3 separate regions of the Homo sapiens genome follow, and all the other regions are linked to region 2. Evidence: promoter capture Hi-C in human tissues and cell types (Jung and others, 2019). All regions are on one chromosome and are shown on one strand. Each heading gives the region's core, a stretch centred on a gene start or on the middle of the fragment in contact. The rest is flanking DNA. Distances are from core to core; before and after follow the strand shown.

Region 1 (2,787 bases), core at 28-2,527, 690 kb before region 2:
GACAAACCAAAGATATAATTAAAACTCCTAGTTTTTTGGCAATTAAGTTTTTAACTATTGTACAACCAAATAATTTATATATACAAACCACAGTTTATAAATTCTACAACTTCTTCTTTGTCGTTTTAAACTTCACTGTATGGGCTTTGATAATCCAGGCCATGTAATTACCTTTAAGAAGCATGCTTAGGGTTTTTTCTGGAGTACAGGTCCATACAGCATTTCTCTCTGTCCTCTTGGGAACAAAACATCAATTGCTTTCAGCTAAATGCACTCACATATGAATATTTTAGTACAATTTAATGCTTCTATACCAACCCCAAAGGAACAGAGCATCAATTTGTGAACACAGTTCTCTTGGAGTTAAAAGCCAAGCTAGATAAAGCACTATGAAAGCAGCTGTCAATCTTCAGCTTTTTAGCAAGTTAGAAAGGCAGCCCATAAATTCAGTCCTAGCTGTATACAAGTAAGTCTATAAAGTTTGTTCCTACACAGACTTTTCAACAATAGTGAATTTTCAAAAGAGAACCCAGAAACAAAATTTATTATCTTGATACATTTTTCAAAAACTGCTTATTCACCTGGTAACTTTAAACTGACTTCTATTCACTTAGTCTCACCATTATGAATGGACAGTTGGTCTGTTAGTAAAATACCAAAATATACACAAAATAATCTACTCCCACTAAGAAGTTGCACTAAGCGTAAGAACACATTTCCCTGGCATTAGAAAACAGATTCTTTAATAATTGCAATATGCTTATATGTTCAGGTGGTTAGGAAGGTAAGGTCAGCACCATCAAAAAAGCTAATAGAAGGCAATCTAGAAATAAGTATTAAATGGAAACTACCACCAAATACGCCAACCTTTAAAAGGCCATAGAAATTAAATGCTAGTTGTAGCGTAAATCTGAGACTCTATTAAGTTCAACAAATATTAATGTGCTAACAAAATCCAGTAAGTGTGTCAAACCTCAGGTAAAGAAATAAGAATTCAATACCTGTTCATAATTTCAAAACAAAATAAAACAAAATCTCTTAGAAAACAAGGATTTATGACAGTACTGTAAAAATGGCTAATACACAGCACTTACTATATACCAGGCACAGTTTTTAAGTGTTATATAAATATTAACTCATTTAAGCCTGTTTTACATATTAATCTTTAAAATCATTTAATCTTTAATACTACAGTATGAAGTATGAATTATTATTATCACCATTGTATAGTTGAGAAAACTGTGCTACAGAGGGGTTAAGTGATTTGTCCAAAGTCACACAGCCAGCAAGTGGCAACACCAAGGGCTGAATCCTGGCAACCTGGCTAGAAAGTCTGGATTCTTAACTATTCTATGACACTGCCTATTGTAGGGAACTTTTTAAAATCTGATAAAGGGTATCCACTAAAAACAGACAGCCAACATAATACCTATGGTGAAACAATGGAGTAATTTCCTTGAAATGAAGGACAAGGATGTTTATCCTCACCACTTCCGTTCAACAATGCCACAGCTAACACAATAAGAAAAGAAAATTGGTTGGGCACGGTGGCTCACACCTGTAATCCCAGCACTTTGGGAGGCTGAGGCAGGCAGATCACGAGGTCAGGAGATTGAGACCATTCTGGCTAACATGGTGAAATCCTGTCTCTACTAAAAATACAAAAAAAATTAGCCGGGCGTGGTGGCAGGCACCTGTAGTCCCAGCTACTCGGGAGGCTGAGGCAGGAGAATGGCATGAACCCGGGAGGTGGAGCTTGCAGTGAGCCGAGATCATGCCACTGCACTCCAGCCTGGGCTACGGAGCCAAGACTCCGTCTCAAAAAAAAAAAAGAAAAGAAAATTAAATAAAAAGATGAAGCAAAATTTCATTATTCATTATTCCCAGAAGATATGTCTGTGTATGTACAACATCCAAGAAAATCTACAGATAAATTAGTAAGAGCAGTATATAAATATCAATTGCATTCCTATATATCTACATACTTTTATAACAAAAATTATGAAACTGCCTAAACAAGTGGAGAAATAAAATCATGGTCACAGATAGAAGATCAAATGTTGCAAAGATTTTGACTCTTTCCAAATTAATCTATACATCCAATGTTCCTCACTTGAAGAATTTTCGCTATCTGAGTATTTGTTACAATATGTACTTTTTAAACCCAGGAGTCACTATTCAAATTTAAAAAAACAACTATCAAGGATTTGTAGGAGTGCACATTTAAGGTGCTTATGAATCTAAGAGAGACCATCCAGTCTACTCAGCAGCTGTATCTCAGCTATTTTCCTGACAGGACCATATCTTATGCTCACATTCTATAACCACGAGCAAAAGGAACACAAGGAGACATACATTTTTTTAGATTTTTTTTCATCTAAGACTGCAGACAATGGTTCACAGCCATCTATTTCTGGACCTCAGGAGTGGAGAAAACTGTCCATCACTTCTTAGGATCCAATAGTAAGCTCCTTTGCTAGAATCTTTCCATACATTTTGACTCACCACTGAACCGCAACCATGATAACAGCCCCTTCTCCCACTTCTCACCACCAAATCTAACTCAGGCAACTCTTTAATCAGTACATTTTTTTTTACGTGGTCTTGGTTATTCACTAAGAGTTATTTGCATTCATCATGTATCTTTAACATATTTTCTCATTGCTTATTTACATTATGGTACGTGTTTGGAGCAGTGTAGAAGAAATAACTGATACTGTACAGTTTCCACACTATTCTGTCCAAAAACATACCAAATAATGAGTGTAATAAGTGTTAAGTAACTGG
Region 2 (2,769 bases), core at 151-2,650:
TCACGCCGGAAGCTGGTCAAAGTTTACCTTTTACTTATTGGAGAACAACAGGTACAAAGCAGAGTTTCTTATATTAAATTGGGACATTTTTCTCTTTTTTTCCTCAAAACCGAGAATGGAAGTGAAAATTAAAATCCAGCAATAAAGGGTTTTCTTTTTAGTTTAATGAAATCAACTCTAAAATTTGCTTTTATTTATATTCTGAAATTTAAAACTTTGTTCTTCGTTGATCTTTATAACATTGGAAAGATTGAACTTACACTTTGCTCTGTGAATCTTTCAATGGTTTGTGACCAAACCATAAATTTCAACCCGACCCAGGAAATTTCTGCGACTTGTGCCCACCCAGTTTTGCAGTTTGGAACAGAATTCTTGCTCCCAATCCAAATAGAGACTGAGAGAAATGAAAGAGGACCCAGAAAGCCTTTTCTTCTCTGTGAAAGGCCTGATCCTAAGTGGCGCAATCAATAAAGAAAAGGGTTCAAGGTGCAGCCTACAAATTTCTTAGAGTTTAATGTGTTCAGGTTGAGGTGGAGAAATTACATAAACCTGTGAATAGACATGGAATAGAAGCCATGTGTATATGCATTCTGTCCCTAAAGGTTTTGCTAGGTACTTACTAAGCTATTCCTTCTGTGCAATCATCTTTCGTTTTTCTACTTGTATGGATGAAAGCCTACCTTCACTGAACACTTCACCTTATGTGCCAGCTATTGTTCTAAACCCATTACATTATTTAATCTTCACGACAATTCTTTAAGGTAGTCTTATTACTATGCTCATTTTATAGATGAGCAAACAAGTTTTCAGGGGTCAAGAAATTTGAGCAAGTTCACATTAACTTGTAAATCACGAAATTGAGCATCAGATACAAGCATCTGGCTGCACTTCCTGAGTTTGTACGTCCTACTCTCATAAAATAGATACATTGAAGACTGAGAAAGAATACTGTTGGCCGATTCCTCAGGCAATAATTTTTTCGATATTGTATTGTTGTCTCAGAAACCTCCAGCCTCTCTCATTGATGGACGGTAGGAGGGGCACATGGAGTGGACCAGGAGTGGGCAGGAGTGGGGTGGGGGCGTGCTTTTAGAAGCGTTTCGGGGGAACGACAAGGCGCGGGTCGTAGAGGTCTACCCTCTCTGCAGTCCCAGCATGGCTCCTGGAGCTCTCTGGGCGGCCGCTGACCCCGACATCGCGGCGGCCCGCCCCCAGCGCCGCGCTGCCCAATCAGCGGCGCGGCCTGGTGCCCCGCCACTCCGCGCCGGCCATATAGGCCTCCTCCTGGCGCGCCTCCGCACCGCATTGGTGGACCGGCCCCCAGCCCGTCCATGGGCGTTGTGGCCGCCACCGCAGGTTCCGCCTCCCGTTCCCTCCGCCCTCAACGTACGTCGCACCGCCTCTCTGTAGCCGCCCGCGGAGCATCGCAGCCGGCCCGGGCCCCCGCCAGCCTCCCTCCTCGCGTCCCTCGGTGTCCTCCGCGGGCCGGCGCGATGCGGCTGGGCCCGAGGACCGCGGCGTTGGGGCTGCTGCTGCTGTGCGCCGCCGCGGCCGGCGCCGGCAAGGCCGAGGAGCTGCACTACCCGCTGGGCGAGCGCCGCAGCGACTACGACCGCGAGGCGCTGCTGGGCGTCCAGGTGAGGCGGCCAGGCCGGTGCTGGGAGGGCCGGGCCTCGCACCGCGGCTGCCGCGGGCTTTGTCCCGGGACAAAGGGGGGCGGCCGGGCGAGGCCTGGCAGGGGCGGCCTGACAATGGGGGCCGGGCGGCGCGGCACTCGCTCTCTGGGGGTCCTGGGGCCTGGAAAGCCTGAGGAGATAGCACGGCCCAAGAGCTGGATCCCTTCTACCCCTCAGATCATGGAGGGTGTGTAGGGGGTAGGGGCCTTGAAGTGCAGGTGCGGGTCACCCCGAAACCCTTTGGCAAGGGGGTCTTCTAGTAGCCCTGTTTTTCTCCACCATTTTGCCCCACTGATAGTAATGCTTGGCCCTCCTGTGTGTCGCTTCCCCCTAAAGGAAGATGTGGATGAATATGTTAAACTCGGCCACGAAGAGCAGCAAAAAAGACTGCAGGCGATCATAAAGAAAATCGACTTGGACTCAGATGGCTTTCTCACTGAAAGTAAGGACTGCCCTACACGACTAACAATGGAGACAAACACAAATATGTTAAGCAGCGGTGTCTGCTGAATGTATAGATTGCTAGTGTCCCAAGTTGGAAGTCCTGTGAGAAGGAGAAAAGGACATGGAGAATAGGCTTTATACTTACAAATCTTTAGACACTGAGAACCAAGTAAAACTCGGTGCTTTCTCCAGTTATATATAAACATCATTGACCCTGTACTCTATGTGGAAGTCACACCTTGAGACACCCTCTTTCTCACGTGACTTTTGTTAGTGTCAACAATATGATTTATTTTAGAGAAATATGCCCCAAAACTTTAAGGCAGTAAATGATTTATCGCTCTTTTGATATATGCTTCATTTAAATTTTAGGAATTTGCTTCTTTTTTTAAGCAAGTAGAAAAAGACCTGTTGCCTGTGAATTACGTTTATTATAACATTATACCAAAATGTTAGAGCTGGTAGGGGCCTTGGGATCATCTTGTCCACATCACTTTGTAGAGATGAAGAAATGAAGCACAGGGATAAGTGCCTTCTACAAATAAGTGGCAAAGCTGGACTAGAATCCAGGTATCCTGCTCTTAATTCAGGTTTTAATATCCTTCAGTTAAAAAAAAAAATCTGATGCTCTCAGGTAAATTCTCTAGTC
Region 3 (2,700 bases), core at 107-2,606, 600 kb after region 2:
GAGGCTGCCCTCTGCTCTTGTTCTCCCTGGGGTCTCCTTGGCCTGTCTGCTGGGGGAGCCCCCCCAGTCCCTGAGAATGTGACCCGCTGCTGAGAGGCCTATAAGTCTCCTCCCCATGCGGGCTCTGCAGTGCCCAGGTCTGGGAACCAGAACTTGGATTTGAATTCCAGTTCCTCTGTCTATTGGCTGAGGGACCTGAATTTCCTAGTCTTTAAAACAGACGTATACCACTCCCCGCCTTACAGAGGATAATGGGAGTGAAGTGCCAGGTGAGCTGTGAGGGGCTCAGCCTACACACTAGACTTGAGGCCATTGGCCACCGGCCTGCTCACAGCAACAGCTAGGAAGGGGCTGAAGTCCCATCTTGCCTAGACAGGCCTGCCACCACTAGGGCTGTGGCAGAGGCCCCCAGAAGGTGGGGAGGAGGGCGGTGACAGTGCCAAGCCCTCCCTGCAGAGTTCTTGCCTTCTCTGGGGAGCGCCGAGGCAGTGTGCTGGGGTGCGGGTGGCCTGGTGGGTGGCCCCACTTTGTAAGGCCCATCTTATTCTGTGCTCTCTGTGAGGGGAGCTGATAATTGAGCCATTTCTCAGGGAGATGACCCTGATTTTTATGAATCTGCAGGACGAAGGAAGCAGCGCTGTCCTGCTGGGGAGACTGTGAGAAGGAGGAGATGAAGGGGAAGTTGCTTATCTTCCCAGTCTTTCCACTTGGGAGACTGTTTGGCGTGTGACGAGGGAGGAGAAGCCAATTTGAAGCCTCTTGGAGGAGGAGGTCTCTGCTGTTGCTGTCCCTGGCACAGCCTTGCCCCTCATCCTCTCTGGCCACCTGCCTCCTTAATCCATTTAACGCCTCTTCATCGCTGTTTTTTTTTTTTTTTAATACTTTTCCTGAGCTGGGGCCCCCAGGGCCTCCTTGATGGCGAATGGTCTCGGCAGCCCCTGGGCTGTTCCTGGGAAGGGACAGGCTTCAAGGTCAGGCTGCTGCTGGCTGACCTTGAAAGCTTCCGCAGGCAAGCCCCTGACATGCCTCCACTCTCCAAGCTCAGCGAGCTCCATCACATTAAAAAGCTGTTAAAAGCGCCCGTCTGGTTGGCTGCCTCTGAGGCTCTGCGGCCGGTGGTGGGGAAGGCAGCCTCAGTTCAGGGATGAGCTCCGCTAGAGGCGCGGGTCTGCCCTGGGGACCTAGGCCTGGGAACCGCCTGGCAGTTGCCCACCCCTCCATTCTTACTTGAGGGAAGGCAGTGGGAGGATGACACTTATCCTGAGCCACACAGTAGCCTAAGTGCTTTTAGATGGGTGAGCTCACTTCATCTTTACAGCCGCCCTGTAAAGTAGGGCTATTAGGAACCCCATGTTGCAGTTGGGCTCAGGAAGGTTAAGACACTTCTCTAGGGTCACACAGCGAGTAAACAGATGAGGAGACCCTCAGCCCCTGAACTCACTGGCTCGGGCCTCACCCGAAGGGTTCTCAGTGTCCACCTACCCACTCTGCACATCGTGCCCGGTGTGGGCCTCACCTGTGGTGGCCTTCTCTGGGCCGTGGCTTGCCCTGCACTCATGGGCACAGAAAGCTTCTCCCCTCTGGAGATGACCGGGGCTTTGGCCTCGGTTGCTGTGTGGCCATGGACAAGCCCTTGGGCCTGCCTTTCCTCAGGTCAGGAGTCTGGGAGGGGTGTGGAGAGTAGCGGGTGGTTATGGCTGGGCTTCAGGGCTCTTTATTCAATTCGAAATAAACCTAGCTGTAGGCTTCCATGGTGGCTTCATAGGCCTCCCCAGGCCTTTTGTTTGCCTGCTAATGGTTTCTAGTGCCCCTGCAGGGCCTGGCAGGTTCAAAGCTCACTCAGACTAGCAGCTAGCAGACTCCTAGGCTGGGGAAGGCTATGGACCTTCCTCCTTCACCCAGCCTGGCCCAGTCTCCCTGGGGACACACCACAAGCATGAGGTGGGGTAGGGGCAGCATGGGGTGGCACAGGGTGAGGGTAGGAGAGGTGGAGGAAGAAGACTCCTCCCAGGGGAGGTGAGAGGGCTGGATGCCCCCACTCCCACTCTGCTTCTGGTTGTGATGAGCCCCATGTGACTCCATCATTTGTGAGACCTTCAGATTTGCCCAGGAAGGCCCATCTGCCCATGGGCAATTTTAATGCCAAGGCATGATCTGTTCCTCTCTCTCCACCTTTCCCCCATCATCGCCTCCCACTCTTCTCCCATTCCTCTGCTCCAGCCACACCAGGCTCCCTGCTGTCCACAAGCACCCCAGGCCCACTGCTACCTCAGGCCCTTCGCACAGGCGGCTCCTCTGCTGACAGACTCCTCCCATTGGGTCCACATGGCTGGCTCATTTCCCCAGCTCCTTCAAGTCTCTGCTTGATGTTCATCCTTTTTTTTTCTTTTTTTTTCTGAGATGGAGTCTCACTCTGTCGCCCAGGCTGGAGTGCAGTGGTGCGATCTCGGCTCACTGCAACCTCTGCCACCCGGGTTCAAGCAATTCTCCTGCCTCAGCCTCCCTAGTAGCTGAGATTACAGGCGCATGCCACCACGCCTGGCTAATGTTTGTATTTTTAGTAGAGATGGGGTTTCACCATGTTGGACAGGCTGGTCTCAAACTCCTGACCGCGTGATCCACCCCCCTTGGCCTCCCAAGGCAAGGAGGGTGGAATGTGCTGGAATTACAGGCATGTGCTGCTGCACCCAGCCTGATGTT

What was found. Contacts are between HindIII fragments. The study calls those that stand out against the background at their distance.
Region 1: a contact is called between a fragment that was not itself captured here and the fragment with the promoter of RCN2 in region 2, in 1 of the 25 tissues and cell types used here (lymphoblastoid cells).
Region 3: a contact is called between a fragment that was not itself captured here and the fragment with the promoter of RCN2 in region 2, in 1 of the 25 tissues and cell types used here (heart left ventricle).

Annotation. Positions count from the first base shown.
Region 1 is chr15:76,245,014-76,247,800 of GRCh38, forward strand. The region is part of intron 9 of ETFA (electron transfer flavoprotein subunit alpha); the gene reads right to left. Among named protein-coding and RNA genes, the nearest start is that of ETFA, 65 kb to the right of the region's middle. The HindIII fragment of the contact is 3,436 bases long and covers 1-2,787 here.
Region 2 is chr15:76,930,349-76,933,117 of GRCh38, forward strand. RCN2 (reticulocalbin 2) reads left to right here and starts at 1,401. Exons shown (of 7, transcript NM_002902.3): 1 at 1,401-1,637; 2 at 2,013-2,118. The coding sequence starts at 1,494. RefSeq lists a silencer at 1,094-1,843. The HindIII fragment of the contact is 23,440 bases long and covers 1-2,769 here.
Region 3 is chr15:77,528,059-77,530,758 of GRCh38, forward strand. The region is part of intron 1 of LOC101929457 (a long non-coding RNA gene); the gene reads left to right. Among named protein-coding and RNA genes, the nearest start is that of LINGO1, 100 kb to the right of the region's middle. RefSeq lists enhancers at 615-1,458, 1,459-2,300, 2,301-2,700. The HindIII fragment of the contact is 4,673 bases long and covers 1-2,700 here.